Linked DNA regions of Homo sapiens: region 2 is linked to region 1. The links are contacts of gene promoters, found by promoter capture Hi-C in blood cells and fetal thymus (Javierre and others, 2016). All regions are on one chromosome and are shown on one strand. The core of a region is centred on a gene start or on the middle of the fragment in contact, and the rest is flanking DNA. Distances in the headings are between cores, read along the strand shown.

Region 1 (3,191 bases), core at 376-2,875:
GATTTTTACCTCACAGGTGCCTTACATGGGATTAACATGAAACTTCATCTGTGACTCAGTGTTAGGTCCTAAAATGGGGGGGGCAGGGTGGGAGAGGATAGATTAAGGAAACTGATTCACCTATGACTTACCTAACACTATACACTCACTTTGTCAGCATCCCTTTTGTCCATTTAGACGAAAACTCTAATTAATAGTCTTGTTTTTCAGGTTACTTTGTCAGTCTGATTTGCCAGACTACTTGAGGTTACAGTGACGGCCACCAAAGTGGCAGATTTTTGGCAGGGACCACCACACTGGAGAAACAGCAATCAGCTCAAGTTATCAAACACTGGGGAACATCAGTTCAGGAAAAATGAGTTACCCCATTTCGGTGAAAGTATTGGGTGAGGTCTCAAATCAATTCACTAAACTCAGCAATCCCTCGAAATGCCCACTCACAAAATTTCTCCTTCCTCTCTGCCCACCTGGGTGAGGAGGGAAAAAGACTGAAAGGTTAGATCCTCAGCTGGGGACTCTGGCCCGCGAGCGTTAAAGAAGGAAATGGAAGTGGTTTCTGTAGAAACATCCGCAGGGTAGAGGGAACCGAAATGAAACCGACCCTGCAGTAATTCGCTGTCCCCTCGTGAAGGCCTGCAGAAAAAGGCAGCTCTGACTCCCCTAAATTGATGCCCGATGTTGGGCAGAGCGCCCCAGCCCTGCCCGGGTCGCTCCACACGACCATCTTTCCACTCCTCCGGTCGGCGCTTCCTTCCCCGCTGCGGGTCAGGGTGGCCCTTGCACGGCGGCACAAGTCCAGAGGGGGCTGAGGAATACCCTTTAGCCAATCCCAGTACTTAGTACCCAGGCGGGCATGAGCTCCACCGAGGCGCGCGCCCGCCCCCGCGCGTTCCCTGGCTCGCGGCTGGGACTGTTACCTCCGCGGTCCTCACCTTCAGAGGAATGAGAGTCCCGCAGCCCTCTCCTGGTCATAACAGGAGACGGCTGTAGCGGAGGCTGCTCTGAGTGCTGCTGCTGAAGGCGGGTAGTCCTTCGCGTCTTCATTTCCTCGGTTTCCTGGGGTCGCGGCTGCCTCCGCTGCCTAGACCGAAGGTAGTACGCGCTTTCTCTCACTTCCTCTTTCGCAGAATCGGACCGGAACTCTTCTAGCCGGGTTCGTTTTCCCACCGGGGACCTTTCTTTGGCCACCAGGGGCTCGAAGTCGCCGTACACTTCTGGCGGCTCGTCCGAGAACCTCACTTCCCGCCGGCCCTGGCGCGACGGAGGAGTTCTGTACGCAGGCGCATCGCTGCTGCCGCCATTTTGAGGGGCGAGCCGGCCCCTTCCCTCTCGGATGGGGGCCCTGGGGGTGACGTACACACCCCATCCTTCCCGCACCGCCTCTGCCCGCCGCCCGTCGCCCGCCATAGTTGTTGACGTAGCTTTAGTCGATCGCGAAGATGGCTTTATGGACCCTAGGTTCTCCTGCCGGTGGTGGCGATGGCTTCTCGGGGGTGTTGGGCGGTGGCCGCTGTGGTCAGGGAGGCAGTTGCGAGTCGCTGGGGCCGCCGCCTGCGTCGTCGCTGCTGTGTAGCAAACCTGCCTCTGGGCCCATGGTGTGTCTTGAGGGCTGTGAGAGAGGCAGTGCCTGAGCTGGGTCAGCTGCTGTGGATCGCTCCCGCCTCCTGGCTGGAGGCACCAAAGAGGAGGAGAAGGGGGAGGAGGACGTCTCTGCCATCGCCCTTAAGTAAAGGAGGGGTGGGGGCGATAGAAGGATGGCAGGGCAACTTGCCTGTCCTAAGTCTAGCCGCTCGTGGCAAGTGTTGACTGCGTGTAGGAGACTCCCGTCCTATCTCCCAGTACCAAGTCTCGGGGAAAAGGAGTGCGACGAGGGTGGAGAAGACCCAAGTTTCGCTTCTCGGCCCCAGGCTGTTGCGCAGTTTCCCTGGAATCTTTTTGATCGACTGCTACGTTGACCATGTCCTTCCCAGTGTCCTTAGCAGGAGTGATGGCCAGAGAGAGAACTTTTGCACATGCCATGTTTTCGTGGCAAAAATTTTAGTTTCAAGTACCTTATGAGGGCGGTTACCTAGTTTTGAATTTTGTCACTTGTTGAGGGTGTACAAAATCCTATCTAGAGTCATACTCGTTGGATGTATTTTCTTTTCCGAAATGTACCCATAGGACACATAACCTTATTCCTGGTCTTTAATATTTCTCGGTTTTATACCAAGCAGCAGTGTTCGGAAGACCATGTTAGTGCTACATTGTGCACAGTGAGAAATGAACAAGTTTTTTAATTAAAGACAGCACTGTAATTTTAAGTTGTGATCCATTATTTTTACTTTTATTCTGGATGTGACGTGATACTCTACATTTGATTTAGAATGCTTTATGGACTTTATGGAATAAGAAAGCATGGTAAAATCTATTTGTTTCACCTCCTTATACAAATGTTTACAGATGTGGCTAATCTGCAAATACCTAACCAAATTTAGACACATTCAGAGAAGGTCGATTAAGTTCGTGTAAAGTCTGAATAATTATTGAAAGAAAGCTTAAATTGCCTTCAAATATACAACTGCTTGTAGGGCTTTGTATGATTGGAGTGAATAGATTTAAAAAATTGTAATTTGGATACCAGTTACAATGAGCGATTCTGAAAAGTTTGAAGGTGTTTGTTTATTCTTCCAAGTAATCACCTTAAAATGTTTTTGAGCAACTCATTTGTTGCTCAAACTTGGCACAAATTTCAACTACTTAAGTCGTAATGTGTACTATGTTTTTATTTTATTTTTATTTTTATTTTATTTTTTTTGAGACGGAGTCTTGCTCTGTCACCCAGGCTGGAGTCCAGTGGCGCGATCTCGGCTCACTGCAACCTCTGCCTCCCGGATTCACGCCATTCTCCTGCTTCAGCCTCCCCAGCAGCTGGGACTACAGGCGCATGCCGCCACGCCCGGCTAATTTTTTTGTATTTTTAGTAGAGACAGGGTTTCACCGTGTTAGCCAGGATGGTCTCGATCTCCTGACCTCGTGATCCGCCTCTCGGCCTCCCAAAGTGCTGGGATTACAGGCGTGAGCCACCCTGCCCGACTGTGTACTATGTTTTTACTAATATTGTCCATAAATTTGGCCACAGGCAGGAGGAATTACAGTTTTAGAGTGAGATAAGGTTTGGCCTGTTAGGAGCTTAGTTTACTGTAGCTTTA
Region 2 (3,191 bases), core at 223-2,722, 6.5 Mb before region 1:
TATAAGAACTGGTGGACCTTACAAAAATTCAAGATAATTTCCACTTTTGTGGAACTTAGACAAGACAAATTGAAAAGTATAGATGGAAGGCTAAAAATAAATACATAGGGCAATATTCATTAACAAAGCAATCTTGACAATGGGAAAATAAAAACAGGACTAGGAGACTAAAATTTGTACTTGGCTCTCATTTGCAAAAATTATTTTACTATTGTCCTTCACTAGATCTGATTATAAAATTACAGATACAGTTGATTAGAGGCAACCTTTGCTAACAAAACAAGAACCTCTTGATAACATTGTTAATGCATTACCAAGTTTGCGCAGATATCTATATACTATTTATAAAATGTTAAAAAAGTATCATTATTTTGAGTGTATGTATGTATGTGCACACAGTATTGAAGCTTTTTATAATTTTTTTATGAACAGGAAATGATAAAACAATTCAGGATTCAGAGTTACTAAAATGGTAGGATGGGATAGCAGTACATTTGAGCATATTGGTAATGTTCTTATTTTAAGTTGGGTGTCATGTTAATAGCTATTCATTTGCTTACTATTCTTTATTGCCTATATATATGTGACGTGTATATTGCTATTTTAAAATGTAATACAGGGAAGAAATGCTTCAAAGTAAATTTCATTAAAATCAATGGATCTATAATTTAGTACTTAATATAGCTGAGTTATGTTTAGCTTCTTATATCAAAAAGTTTGTCCAAATTGCTGGTCTTCTAAGCTTCATTTCTGACAGTTTTATAATATTAAGTAACTAAAGCATTAACTTTTAATTATTTTCTTATTTTGCTACATTTAGATTGTCTTTACTTTTATTATTTAAAAAGTCCAATGTGTATCTTTGGACAAGTGCTAACTAGTTTTATGGATTTTTAATCTTTGGTATCAATTGGGTAATAATTTCTTATAGGCTAAAATAGCTGTGGAAGCTCAGAATAAGTATGAGAGAGAATTGATGCTGCATGCTGCTGATGTTGAAGCTCTACAAGCTGCGAAGGAGCAGGTTTCAAAAATGGCATCAGTCCGTCAGCATTTGGAAGAAACAACACAGAAAGCAGAATCACAGTTGTTGGAGTGTAAAGCATCTTGGGAGGAAAGAGAGAGAATGTTAAAGGTATTATTGTAAATCTGAATAGAATGTTCTGTTGAATTGAAAGAGTTGTTTTTTTCTTTATTTTATAATGTTTTGAGATGGAGCCTCGCTCTGTCACCCATGCTGGAGTGCAATGGCGTGATATTGGGGTCACTGCAATCTCCACCTGCTGGGTTCAAGCAATTCTCCTGCCTCAGCCTCCCAAGTAGTCGGGATTACAGGCGTTAGCCACCGCGCCTGGCCAAGTTGTTTTTTTTAAATATGCATTGGAAAATCTGTTATTCTGATAGACTCTTGGCTTGCAGGATGAAGTTTCCAAATGTGTATGTCGCTGTGAAGATCTGGAGAAACAAAACAGATTACTTCATGATCAGATCGAAAAATTAAGTGACAAGGTCGTTGCCTCTGTGAAGGAAGGTGTACAAGGTCCACTGAATGTATCTCTCAGTGAAGAAGGAAAATCTCAAGAACAAATTTTGGAAATTCTCAGGTAAATCATGTTCTTACTGCTTCATTTCTGTGGTATAACAACTATGAAATGAAACTACAAATATATAAATTAGAGAAGGAGATTATACACGATTTTGATATAAAGTTCATTCTTTTATTTGTCAAAGAACTCATAACTTTTAACATTTACACATATTAAACAAGTGACTTTAAAGTTGAATCTGATAGTAAGAACTAGAGCAGTTTTCTCTTGAAAAACTAAATGCCTTTCAGATCATTTTAGAGATAAACATTCTAAAGCCAGTGTCTATAAAAGAAAATAGAAATACATCTCCCATTATTATTTATTATTAATGAAAACGTGTAATAGTTATTAAAGTCAATGATTTTTGTCATCTTACCAAATTACCTACGTTTTGTAATGTTGGCTTTTTAAAATTCACATAAAATTTTAATATCTGTATTTTTGTAGATTTATACGACGAGAAAAAGAAATTGCTGAAACTAGGTTTGAGGTGGCTCAGGTTGAGAGTCTGCGTTATCGACAAAGGGTTGAACTTTTAGAAAGAGAGCTGCAGGAACTGCAAGATAGTCTAAATGCTGAAAGGGAGAAAGTCCAGGTAGGTATACTAAGCTTTAAGAAAGCACTTGTTAAATCAAAAGAGAAGCACTCATTTATATCTCTACCATTTAACGTAATGTAAAATTTAACTTGAAGTAAGCATTCTTCTAAACTTGTAAATTCATTAAGCATTTGTTAAACACTAATATAGTATAGTGCTTAAAAGTAAAGGCTCTGTAACCAAACTGCCTGGTTTCAGATTCTAGCTTCATACCATTAGCTGTGGCCTTGGGTACATTGTTTAACTTCCCTGCTCTTAGTTTCTTCATCTGTAATATTTGGATAATAATGAGGTTTAATTGAGTTTGTGCACATGAAGCATTTAGAAGCATGTCTGGTATGTAGTGGGTGCTTAATAAATTCCAGCTATCTTAATTTATTATAGTTATGGATTATACGTGTGGATAGTCATTCTAGGATAAAGTGATTTAAACTGCTACAGAATATCTTTCTCACCCAAGGAGCAAAAAGTAGTAAAAACTAACAACCAAAGGAAAAGAAGCTGTGGTAGTGAAATGGATGATAATAAGACAAGCTTGACTCCTTACCCCACACTACCACCCAAAGCTTATTGTTGAGTTACTTCATTCTTAGGAGCTACAGTAATATACCCCCACCTCTAGAAGGAAGGAAATTAAGATCTTAAAACATTTATCTTCTTTTAACTGATGAGTAGTCAAAATGACTGTTAAGAAGAAACCATTGGACAGGGAAAAGTAAATAATGAATTTTATGGGATTTATGTGTTCAGCAAAAGCTAAAGGTTCCAGAATTATATCCTGTTTAATTCAAATGTATCTCACCATGGAAATAATAGAGCCTCCAGTTCAATAGAGTTAATACTTGGAGGAAAAGGGACAGAATCAGAGTCTCTAACAAAGACTGCATATTGTTTCAGTCTTTTCCGCTTCATTTTTTATTCCTTTGGGCTATAGAAAGTAAATACTAGAAAATGCCCGCCTACGAATGAGTTCATAGGGGGAAACCAACCTTAAATACAGGAAG

Evidence for each region. The method cuts DNA at HindIII sites, captures the fragments that hold promoters and counts their contacts. A CHiCAGO score of 5 or more calls a contact.
Region 2: a fragment that was not itself captured here is called in contact with the fragment with the promoter of TOR1AIP1 in region 1 in 1 of 17 cell types (naive CD8 T cells); the score reaches 6.0 in naive CD8 T cells.

What each region holds. Positions count from the first base shown.
Region 1 is chr1:179,880,719-179,883,909 of GRCh38, reverse strand. TOR1AIP1 (torsin 1A interacting protein 1) reads right to left here and starts at 1,625. Exons shown (of 10, transcript NM_015602.4): 1 at 933-1,625. The coding sequence starts at 1,407. It overlaps LOC139427322, which reads right to left and starts at 1,594. Exons shown (of 1, transcript NM_001436163.1): 1 at 1,517-1,594. The coding sequence starts at 1,594. The coding sequence ends at 1,517. RefSeq lists enhancers at 659-758, 1,062-1,356, 919-1,678, 1,183-1,720, 1,699-1,808 and 1 more. The HindIII fragment of the contact is 5,266 bases long and covers 1-2,538 here.
Region 2 is chr1:186,342,319-186,345,509 of GRCh38, reverse strand. TPR (translocated promoter region, nuclear basket protein) reads left to right here. Exons shown (of 51, transcript NM_003292.3): 25 at 932-1,135; 26 at 1,420-1,604; 27 at 2,037-2,184. Among named protein-coding and RNA genes, the nearest start is that of TPR, 31 kb to the left of the region's middle. RefSeq lists an enhancer at 795-1,994. The HindIII fragment of the contact is 1,456 bases long and covers 745-2,200 here.